2 separate regions of the Homo sapiens genome follow, and region 1 is linked to region 2. The links are contacts of gene promoters, found by promoter capture Hi-C in human tissues and cell types (Jung and others, 2019). All regions are on one chromosome and are shown on one strand. The core of a region is centred on a gene start or on the middle of the fragment in contact, and the rest is flanking DNA. Distances in the headings are between cores, read along the strand shown.

The links. Contacts are between HindIII fragments. The study calls those that stand out against the background at their distance.
Region 1: a fragment that was not itself captured here is called in contact with the fragment with the promoter of CYP11B2 in region 2 in 2 of the 25 tissues and cell types used here (pancreas and thymus).

What each region holds. Positions count from the first base shown.
Region 1 is chr8:143,124,553-143,130,133 of GRCh38, reverse strand. No RefSeq gene overlaps it. Among named protein-coding and RNA genes, the nearest start is that of LY6H, 33 kb to the left of the region's middle. RefSeq lists an enhancer at 2,681-3,240. The HindIII fragment of the contact is 4,563 bases long and covers 1,835-5,581 here.
Region 2 is chr8:142,916,133-142,922,120 of GRCh38, reverse strand. CYP11B2 (cytochrome P450 family 11 subfamily B member 2) reads left to right here and starts at 4,278. Exons shown (of 9, transcript NM_000498.3): 1 at 4,278-4,519; 2 at 4,907-5,062. The coding sequence starts at 4,281. RefSeq lists an enhancer at 2,991-3,272 and a promoter at 2,259-4,279. The HindIII fragment of the contact is 14,293 bases long and covers 1-5,988 here.

The sequences.
Region 1 (5,581 bases), core at 2,867-5,366, 210 kb before region 2:
GACCCTGTGGGTATCCCCCTGCCTGCAGGAGCCCCCCATTTCCACGGTTCCTGTTGGATCCCCCACTGCAGCTCTGCCTTCGAGCAGGCACCCGGCACAGCCCTGTGGTGCTGTGTCTCGGCCTGCTGCTGCCACAGGACTCGCCGGTGAGGAGCCACGGGGCAGCCCTCCTGCTGGCCACATTTGCAGGAAGTCCCGCCATGGGGTCCAGTCATGACCAGTCTAATGTCCCTTCTGGAGCCTGTGCCGCCCACTTTAGTGCTTGGGCATGGGGTCCTGGGACCACTGGCTCAGGCAGAAGAAGAGAAACCTTTGGGAGGTGGGGAAGGTACAGAGGGTCCAATTGCACCCCCCACACGCCCTCCTCCTTCCCCCAGCCCTGAAGCCTGTGAGCGGCCTGCCTGCCTTCCCCTCAGGCTCAGTCTGAAGACACCCCAGTTAAGCGACTCCACCAACTGGTCACGTTTCTCACACCTGCCTGAATAACCTGTCTTCCAGTGGCCCATTGCAATTTTCAGCATGGCCACAGCTGGACGGGACGAGCAGTGTGGTGCACACGTATGCTTGCCGTGTTTCCTGGACCGTCTCAGTGTCCTGGTGCCAGCAAGAGTGGGTACCTGGATCAGAAGAAGTAGGTCCAAGTCGGCTGAAATTGACAGAGGACTCACCATTCTAAACACCTCATGCTGTTCCCAAGGTTGCTTCTGTTACAAATAAGCCAAGTCCAGAATAGAGTGTCGTGAGAGCGTGAGATACAGCTTAGCTCCTTCCTGGAATCTCTGGAGTGACAAGAGTCTCTTTTGTAGTGAGTGTGATGAAGTTTGGGTTGATCATCAATAGCCAACGATGCAATCAATCATGTATATGTAATGAAGCTTCCATAAAAACCCAAAAGGAGCTTTCAACAGTTGGACGCACGCAGGTGCCTGGAGGACGGCGCCCAGGAGGGCACAGGAGCTCTGCCATTCTCCCCTGTGCCTTGCAAAACCCAAGGAACTTCCCATCTCCAATGCGCGGATGTTGGGTGGAGGCCTGGGGCTGTCTGGAAGCTGCACATGTACGTGCCTGTCTCCTCCACCCCCCGTGCCTCCGCACCTTCGTCACAGCCTGTGTCATAAATGGGTAAACGCAGGGCGGCGTGTCCCTGAGTCCTGTGAACCACTCCAGCAATTCATCAAACCGGAGGAGGGGGTTGTGGGAACCCTGATTCATGGCAGTTCCGTCAGAAGCCACACCCGGGGCTTGCAACTGGCATCAGAAGTGGGGCCCCTTGCACGGGACTGAGCCCTCGATCTGTGGGATCTGACGCTACCTCCAGGCGGATGCGGTGGGAAATGACTTAAACCGTAGGATGCTCAGACAGTGTCCTGCAGCACTGCTTGGTGTGCAGGAAACAAGGCCCTGCCCACATCTGGTGCAAGAGTGCCTGTGGCTGTGTTGGGATGGGAAGAGCTCCTTGGTGTGTCCTGTATTGCTTGGTGTGTCCTGAGTGCTCCCTTGGTTCCGGGCCTCCTGATAGGCCATAGGCACCCAGGGTCCCCCTTGCCTGCTGTGGCCAGGCCTTGTCCTTCGGGGGTGCCACCCAAAGCTATTTGCAAATGCTTTCTGGTCAGCGGTGGATGTGGTTTCTTCTCATGCTAGTTGTTGCGCTGGGCACAAGGGGACCCCATGCTCCCTCCTGCTGGCTCCTTCCCTAACCTGCTGGGCGCATTCTGGGATCTGACCAAGGCGCTACCATTCAACCCCTTCTGAGCTGGCAACAGGAGTTTTTGGCAGGAATTCCCATTCCTGAGGGCACCCTGGGGATTTTCCAATTGTCCAGTTCTCTGGGGTGCATTTGCCTGGCATCCTGCGGGGCCGTTGTCCAGCCCGAGTTGGCAAATCCCTAAACGCCCCCAGAGCAGGGGCCTGACTCCTTTTTCACTCCTTTTCAGCTCCCGCATTAGGGAGGTTGCCTGTCCTGCCTCCACCTGTGTGGCGTGGGGAAGCTGATTTACAAACAGCAGAAGGGCCCCCGGCATGGGAAGAGTCCGGGCCAGGCAGCCTGCTCTGCCGGCTGGGGGACCGCCTGATGCAGGGGCCAGGCCAGGAGGTCCGCGGGGGCTGCTTTACAGCCCTCTGGGCAGCAAAGCAAGCTGGTCTCTGTGCAGCCCACTCCCTGCCATTCCCCACCATGCCCCTCCTATGTCCCTCCCATGCCCTGCCATTCCCCGCCATGCCCCTCCCATTCCCCCGCCATTTGCCGCCATTCCTCACCATTCCCCTCTCGTTCCCTGCCATTCCCCGCCATGCCCCTCCTATGTCCCTCCCATGCCCCTCCTATGTCCCTCCCATGCCCCGCCATTCCCCGCCATGCCTCTCCCATTCCCTCCCATTCCCTTCCATGCCCCTCCCATTCCCCCGCCATTTTTCGCCATTCCCCACCATTCCCCTCTCATTCCCCGCCATTCTCTGCCATGCCCTACCATGCCCCGCCATGCCCCTCCTATGTCCCTCCTATGTCCCTCCCATGCCCCTCCCATGCCCCGCCATTCCCCGCCATTCCCCACCATACCCCTCACATGCCCTGCCATTCCCCGCCCAGACCCTTGGTAACCTGGTCCCTGTCACCCATGCCCCGCTGGGCCCCTCACTGTTGCCGCTGGACATTAAACCCGCCAAGGGGCTTTCATGGGTTGCCCCTCTTTCTCCAGTGCTTCTTCACGCCACCTGGGACGTGGCCAACTTTTCTGGTGTCGGGATCATCTAACGCTCTTCCATGCACAAGAGTTCCAATGACCCACCCACCCAAGCTTCCTTCCCCCATCCCCTACCACTCCTCCAATACCCGTGGGTGCTGCCGGGAAGGGGCGTTGCAGATGTGCCGTGTGTCCCAGGTCAGCCGACCTTAGGGTCCGTGGATGCAGGTGGGCCTGGTCGAATCACGCCAGCCCTTTAAAAGCAGAAGAAGAGTCAGAGGCCAGGGAAGAGTGCTGTGGGGCCGTGCGAGATGGCAGCCTGAACGGTGGAGACCAGGTCCTGCTGACCGCCAGCAAGGAGACGGAGAATGCAGCTCTACAGCCGGGAAAAGAGTCTGCCATCCATCCGAACAGCCCTGGGCCTCCACCCAGGAGCCCAGCTGTCACACCTCAACTGCAGTCTGTGAGACCCCGCCCAGCCGAGCCCTCGCACTCCTACCCCTCTGGAGCTGCCAGGCAGTCAACAGGCACTGACCCACACTGTGGGGTTGTGGTGGCTCGTAGTGCAGCGAGGGCCCCAGCACGGGCATCTTCCCAGCACGGCTGCCAGCTCACGGTGGTCTCCCAGGCAACATGAAAGAAATGCATCAGGTAGCCCCTGGGCCCCAAACGTGATTTGCATTTCTGCCAAAAGCCAATCTTTTCTGACCAAGACCTGGGCCCTCCCAGTAGCACCTGAGTGGCCCCGTGGGCTGCCTGGGCCATGTCCCAGCTTGTTTCTGGGCAGGGCCCTTTCACATCGAGGTCTTTCCCCCAGTGACACTGTGACTAGAATCACAGGATTTCTGGATGAGGAATGTAATTTTGCAAAAACCTATACAGTTTCAGTCTTAGGGGCTTCTGTTTAGTGGCAACATTGGTGTCAATGGCATTAAATTAGGCGTCCCCTTGTTCACCGTAAAGCCAGCCTAGGGTCACCTGCACTTGTAACTTCCCAACAGCTTTGGAAGCAAGATGCCATTTGTGGGTTGGTGGGGGGCAGTCACTCCTCTCAGGGTAAAACCCCCACCTTTGCCACCTGCAGCAAGTGACGTATGGACCCACCTGGAAGCATTTGATCACAAGAGCTTGCAGCGTCTTGGGGACTGGTTCTTGGCCCTGACCATCACTTCCATGCAGTGGTATCTAGAATCAGTGGTGTGCCCGCCCCTCGCACTGATAATTTAGGAAACTGTGCCCATCCTGAGCCATCGGGCTTTGCCTGCCGCTCTCCCCAAATGTCCTGGCTCTTCTCAGAGGACCCTCGGGTTTCCGCAGCCGCCTGCCATGCCCTTCCACCCGCAGCATGGGTTTGCAGCCAGTCAGGTTTCTCAGCTGAGTTACTTTTTGGATGAATGTCACATCTGTTTAATTGGCCACTGGAGAGAGGAGACTGCACTGACCCGAGGACCGGGTCTGGTTTCTTTCTTGTGCCCCAGCTGCTTCTTCCAGTGGCCTTGTTTCTGTCTGGGTGTCAGTGGCACCTGCCATGGAAGAGCTGTTTCTCTCGCCTCCCTTGTGCCGGTCTTTGGCCAGCTCCCCGCCCCAGGTCGGCTTCCTCTCCGTCCCCTCGGTAAGGTGTGCTCCCTGTGGCCAGCCCCAAGGCTGTCAGCGTTTTGTATCAGGGACAGGTTGACAGCCACCTGGAGCCTCGTCCTCAGCAAGCTTCTCCCGCGCCCCCTTATCTTGCCTCAGAGAACCTCAGCTTAGATAATAAACAGCCATGCTGCTCGTGGTGCCCACCGGAGACAGCACGCAGAGCGGGATGGTCTCGTTTGCCTGGGAGCCAGGGGAAGCCAGGGGACCACTGGGACTGCCCACTCGCCGACCCCCACCCCCGTCCCTGACACATGGAGGCACGCTGCATCAAGGTTTAGGGTAGGAAGCTCCCCGTGGTACAGGAGGGGCAGCTCTTACCCAAAGGGGGCTCTTTCCGTTATGAAACTTTTTCCCTTTAAACTCTAGAAATTGCCAGAGGCACTGACATTTTCCAGTGGGCCGTGTGCCATAAGCCCAGATGTGTTTAATCCTGAACAGAAGGCTCTTCTGTGCTCACAGTCGACACCTCCAGGAGCTCTCATTAGCGTGTTTACAAGGACATTCTTTTCTTTTGTCTGATTTCTTTCTCCAAGAGCATCCCCAGGGGAGGATGGATGGGTTGCAAATGGTAACACTTTCCATGTGTGTACACGTGTGTGCATGTGTGAGGGTGTGTGTATACATATGTGAGGGTGTGTGGTGTGTGTGTACATTTATCAGGGTGTGTGTGAGGGTGTATGTACATGTGTGAGGGTGTGTATGTGTGTACATGAGTGTGTGGGCATGTGTATGCATGTGTGCCGATGTGTGTGTGTACATGTTTGAGGGTGTGTCCTCGTGCATATATGAGGGCATGCGTGTGCATGTACATTTGTGAGGGTGTGCATGTGTATGAGGATGTGTGTACATGTTTGAGGGTGTGTACATGTGTGAGGGCTGTGTACATGTGAGGGTGCGTGTGTATACATGTGTGAGGATGTGTGTACATTTGAGGGTGTGTGTGTACATGTGAGGGCATGTGTATGTGTGCATGTACATATGTGAGGGTGTGTGTACGTGTGGGTATGCATATGTATACAGTGTGAGGGTCTGTGTGTACATGTGAAGGTGTGTGCACATGTATGTGAATGTACGTGTGGGTGTGTGCATACATGTGTGAGGGGTGTGTACCTGTATGTGTACGTGGGGGGGTGGGGGGTACATGTGGGAGTGCATGTGTGCACGTGTGAGGGTGTGTACATGTGTGAGGGTGTGTGTGTGAGGATGCATGTGTACGTGTGACGTGTTACATGTGAGGGTGTGTTACATGTGTGGGTGCATGTACA
Region 2 (5,988 bases), core at 3,029-5,528:
CTCTGACCCACTGGGGGACGTGAGGCCGGGGACCGCACACCCTGGACCTCAGTTTCCTCCTGTGGAATGGGGACAGTGACAGCAATGCTCCCTTCCTGGGACTGCTGCAGGCTTCCGTGAGACAACATGTCACCAAACCGCAGATCCCCCTGCAAGGTTCGGTGCCTGGTGTGTGGCTGCTGGAGGGAGTTCATGGGACAGTGGGGACCCTGAGAACGGCCCTCAACTCAGTCGTCACAGGCCCCTTATGGCTCTATGAATCTGAACTACGGACAACACGTTTTAGGACAGAAAAGGGGGATGTGAGCTGCTGGCACAGGGCCCCTGCCCGGATGAGGACAGACTCAGGCAAGCACTGCTCGTCTTCCAGCCTGGGTGTGGCTCCCAGCACCCGGCCTCTCATGGTCTCCTGGGTATTCCCAGCTCCTTAGCAGGACCAGTGAGGTGAGCCCAGACCCGGCCTCGGACATGTTTTCATCTCCTTCCATGCCACCTTGTGCCTCTGGGGACTCACAGAATTGCCCCGAGAGGACTGAGCCCCTCACAGGGAAGGGCCCCTGCGGGCTCTTGTTCCCGCTCCTTGCACCCAGCATAGGGCCTGGAAGAGGAGGTGAAATACCATTTGGTAATTCGGGAAGTACAGCCCTCTGCCCTTCCTTCCTGTGTGGGACCTTGCTCCAGGCAGATGAGTAATCCAAGGTCCAACCTTTGCGTCCAATTCAGCATGCTAGGAACTTGAAGTTGTTAATTCATCCTAACATCAAGTAAAAAGGAAAAAACTTCCCAAAATCAGCAACTCTTCTTAGATTCCCAGGAGAAGTGAGACCACACAGCAAACTGCCACCCCCAAGACTGGAGAGTCAGACAGGTGAAAATGGAGAATTGCCACTCACCAAGGGCAGGCTTCTTGAGGGCTAGTGACAAGAAAAAAAATCCAGAGCAATCCCAGAAGAGCTTCTGGGGCTCAGTGTGCACAAGCGTAAGAGCTAAGGTCAGTCAGGAACCCGGGCACTCACTTATGTGAGTTTCACCTCCAGAAGCTCTACGAGGTGCTCACCGCAAATATCAGAAAAGCTCGTCTATGTCAGGCAGCAAGAGAAAAAGAATGGTCATTATGAAATACACCAGAGCATTCTGTTCTTTAAAAGGCCAGCCTTTCAGAGAGACTGTCTTGCCAGAGCCTAAGCTGCTGGGTTTTATCAGAGCTGAACTATCTGGGAAAGAAGAGAGACATCCAACCCCAGTCCGTGTAGCGTGCCACATGTGAGAAGAGCCACACACAGCCCCAGCCCTTACTGCTCAACCTGTCTATTTATGTCAAGGAAACACTGAGAAGCCCTTGTAATGTTCACGGGTTGGGGACACAGGCTCACTGAAAGACTCAGACCTACTCACAGGACCACAACACACTCCCCTCTCCGCACACCTTACCTCTGCATCATCAAAGGCACCTATTTGCAGCAGTTTCTTTTATGCAGTATATTATGTCTGGGGCTTAATAAAAAATGATACGGCATACTAAAAGGCAAAAGCCAAGGTTTGAAGTGATGGAGTAAATACTACAAGGAGGCTCAGATATGGCAGGGACCTGGAATGATCAACTGGGAATTTTAAACAACAGTGATTAATACGCTAAGGACCCTCATGGAAAAGTAGACAACACGCAAGACCAGATGGGGAATGTGGACATCCAGATGAAAATTCAAGGATGGGTGAAAAAAGAAATTCTGGAGATCAAAAACACTGTGACAGAAACAAAGCGTGCCTTAGATAGGCTTATTAGTGGACCGAACACAGCTGAGGAAAGAATCTCCGAGCTTGAGAATATGTCAATGGAAACTGGAAGCTGAAAGGCAAAAAGAAGAAAACGGAACAGAATACTGAGGACTGTGAAACAACTACTGCTGGTGTAACATACACATAACGGGGACATTGGAAGGAGGAAAAAAGAAAGGAACAGAAGAAACATTTGAATCAATAATGATTAATGTCAGACACCAAACCACAGATTCAAGCAGCTCAGAGAACACCAAGCAGAAAACAAAACAAAACAAACGTCTCCACCTAAGCATATCATACTCAAACTTTGGAAAAATCAAAGATGAAAAAGAAACCAGGGGTTGGGTGGGGGACACCTTATCTATATAGGAGTAAAGCTAAGAATTACATGTGACTTACCCTCAGAAACCATGCAAGCAAGAAGACAGTGGAGGGAAACATTTCAAGTGTTAGAAGAAAAAAGAAAATACATCAACCTAGAATTCTGCATCCTGTGAAATTATCCTTCAAAAGTGAACATAAATATTTTCTCAGGTAAATAAAAATTGAGGGGATTCGCTGCCAATAGAACTGACTTGCCAGAAATGTTTTTTAAAAGTTCTGCAGAGAGAAAGAAAATGATACAGGTCAGCAACCCTGAGCTACATAAAGAAAGGAAGAGCATTTCAGAAGGAATCAGTAAAGAGAAAATGAAGTCTTTTATTTTTTCTTAATCTTAATTGATCTAAGAGTTTGCTAAAACAAAACAACAACAATAAAAATAGGCCGGGCGCGGTGACTCACCACACCTGTAATCCCAGCACTTTGGGAGGCCGAGGTGGGCAGATCACCTGAGGTCAGGAGTTCGAGACTAGCCTGGCCAACACGGTGAAACCCCGTCTCTACTAAAAATACAAAAATTAGCTGGGCGTGGTGGTGGCACATGCCTGTAATCCCAGCTACTTGGGAGGCTGAGGCGGGAGAATTGCTTGAACCCGGGAGACAGAGGTCGCAGTGAGCCGAGATCACACCATTGCACTCTAGCCTGGGCGACAGAGTGAGACTCTGTCTCAAAAATAAATAAATAAATAAATAAATAAATAATAAAAATAAATAAATAAAAGCCAGAAAGTGTATTTGATGATCATAGTTATGTATATGTGAAATGAAGGACAGCAATGATGCAAGGGATGGGTGAGTGGAATTAAAAATATCTTATTATTTATTTATTTTGAGATGGAGTCTTGCTTTGCTGCCCAGGTTGGAGTGCAGTGGGATGATCTCAACTCACTGCAACCTCCGCCTCCTTGATTCAAGCATTCATCTTGACTCAGCCTGCTGAGAAGCCGAGATTACAGGCATGCGCCACCACACCTGGCTAATTTTGTATTTTTAGTAGAGACAGGGTTTTGCCATGTTGGCCAGGCTGGTCTCGAACTCCTGACCTCAGGTGATCCACCTGCATCAGCCTCCCAAAGTGCTGGGATGACAGACATGAGCCACTATGCCCAGCCTAAGAATATCTGATGATTATAAAGTGCTTGCATTACCTCTGAAGCTGTATAGTGTTATATGAAGGTGGAGTTGGAGAGATGAGTTTTAAGCGTATATTGCAAACTCTAGGGCAACCACTAAAGAAGTGAGACCCAGCCTCTAGAAAAAAAAAAAAAAAAGGAAATTAGCTATCAAGCCACGAAAAGAAATGGAGGAACCTTAAACGCATATTACTAACTGAGATACGTCACTTTGAAAAGGCTACAAACGGTGTCATTCCAACTATACAACATTTTGGAAAAGGCCAAAGCATGGTGATGATAAAAAGATCGGAGATGTCAGGGACTGGGGCAGGAGGGATGAGCAGGCAGAGCACAGGTTTTCTTTTCCTCTTTTTAAGACAGTGAAAATACTCCTAGGATCCTGCAAGGAGGGATACAAATTACATACATTTGTCAAAACCCACAGCATGTTGACCACCAGGAGGAGACCCCATGTGACTCCAGGACCCTGGTTGATAACAACGTATCGAGATTCCTCACATGGAACCAGTGCGCTCCTGTGGTGGAGGGTGTACCTGTGTCAGGGCAGGGGGTACGTGGACATTTTCTGCAGTTTTTGATCAATTTTGCAATGAACTAAATCTGTGGTATAAAAATAAAGTCTATTAAAAGAATCCAAGGCTCCCTCTCATCTCACGATAAGATAAAGTCCCCATCCATTTTACTCCTCTCAGCCCTGGAGAAAGGAGAGGCCAGGTCCCACCACCTTCCACCAGCATGGACCCCCAGTCCAGACCCCACGCCTTTTCTCAGCATCCTCAGACCAGCAGGACTTGCAGCAATGGGGAATTAGGCACCTGACTTCTCCTTCATCTACCTTTGGCTGGGGGCCTCCAGCCTTGACCTTCGCTCTGAGAGTCTCAGGCAGGTCCAGAGCCAGTTCTCCCATGACGTGATATGTTTCCAGAGCAGGTTCCTGGGTGAGATAAAAGGATTTGGGCTGAACAGGGTGGAGGGAGCATTGGAATGGCACTCAGGGCAAAGGCAGAGGTGTGCGTGGCAGCGCCCTGGCTGTCCCTGCAAAGGGCACGGGCACTGGGCACTAGAGCCGCTCGGGCCCCTAGGACGGTGCTGCCGTTTGAAGCCATGCCCCAGCATCCAGGCAACAGGTGGCTGAGGCTGCTGCAGATCTGGAGGGAGCAGGGTTATGAGCACCTGCACCTGGAGATGCACCAGACCTTCCAGGAGCTGGGGCCCATTTTCAGGTAAAGCCCTCCCTGGCCCTCGCTGGGAACACCCAGATCCCTGCCCCTGCTGCCCAGGACCCTGCCAGGCACTCAGCACTGCCATTCCCAGCAGGTCCCGGCACTCTGCATCCTTTGGAGGATGGGGAAGGAGTGCAGCACATGCTGGTCTGTGGTGCTGCCAGGGCAGGGGATAGTGCAGAGAAAACCCCAGCTCACTGCAGAGAGGGCAGGACTCAGAAGCACTAAAGTTGAAAGGTTCCAGGGAGCCAGCAGGAGGGCTTTAGCTGTGAAGCCGCTAATCCAGGAGCAGGGAGGGTGGACAGGAGACACTTTGGATTGGGACTGCAGGGTGGGGCCACGAGGGACATGACCCCGTCCAGCAGGGCCTCCTGCTTGGCCCCACAGGTACAACTTGGGAGGACCACGCATGGTGTGTGTGATGCTGCCGGAGGATGTGGAGAAGCTGCAACAGGTGGACAGCCTGCATCCCTGCAGGATGATCCTGGAGCCCTGGGTGGCCTACAGACAACATCGTGGGCACAAATGTGGCGTGTTCTTGTTGTAAGCGGCGAGTTGGGAGCTGAGAGCTGGGAGCAGGGTGGGCAGCCTGGGTGTAGGGGGGAGGCGAGAGAGGTAGGACCCAAAAGCACATCTGCCCTGGGCCCCTGTGGTGGGCAGTGAGGGTGAGCACCCGGCCCAGAGGACGGCCATCCTGTGGGGTCGCGTCTGCACTGTGGGTTGGGGAAGCAGGGCGGTGGTGGAGAAATGGGCACGGGCACCTCTGCAGAGAAGACGCAGAGCAATGAGCCCTTCTGTGTAGTGAGAACCCGCTCTGCACCAACCTCGGCGGCTGCTTTCTCTTGCGGTCTGGGGACTGTCCTTCCCATAGGTCAGAAAACTGAGGCCCTGAGAAGGGGACTTCCACTGGCCCAGGTCACAGGCTGAGTGCTGAGCCTGGTGTTCGCCGGGGCCACAGCCTCCCTCAGGGCGCTCAGGGTCCCTGCAGTCCTGGCAAACCTTCCTGATGGGGACAGTCCGGGGCAGGAGGCAGGTGGGGACGCAGGTGGCTGGTGGTTCCGTTGTTCTCAGAAGCAAGGCACAAGGTGGGGCGGTTGATGGCACTGGGGAGGATGTTTCCTGGCCCGTGGAGAGGGTGGCGCCTGGTCAGGTGGGCAGGGAGAGGCTGATGCTTGGAGTCGGTCACCTGCAGGGATGTTGTCATTAGGACGGGGGAAGGACTGGATGAGGATGTCACAGTGGTGACAGCCCCCACTCCATGGTAGGAAGGGAACGCTATTGGGAATAGTGGGGTTTAGGTAAAAGGGCACCCGTGGGTCGGGGCCTTCACTGAGGCTGGCCTATAGATGACATCTGGGAGAGAGTCAGGACCCAGGAAGGCAGGTCCAGGAGGCTGGGTGCGCATAATGGAAGGAAGGGGAGCGCTCCTGTATGTGTGTGTGTCTTGCATCTGTGCACATGCTGTGTGT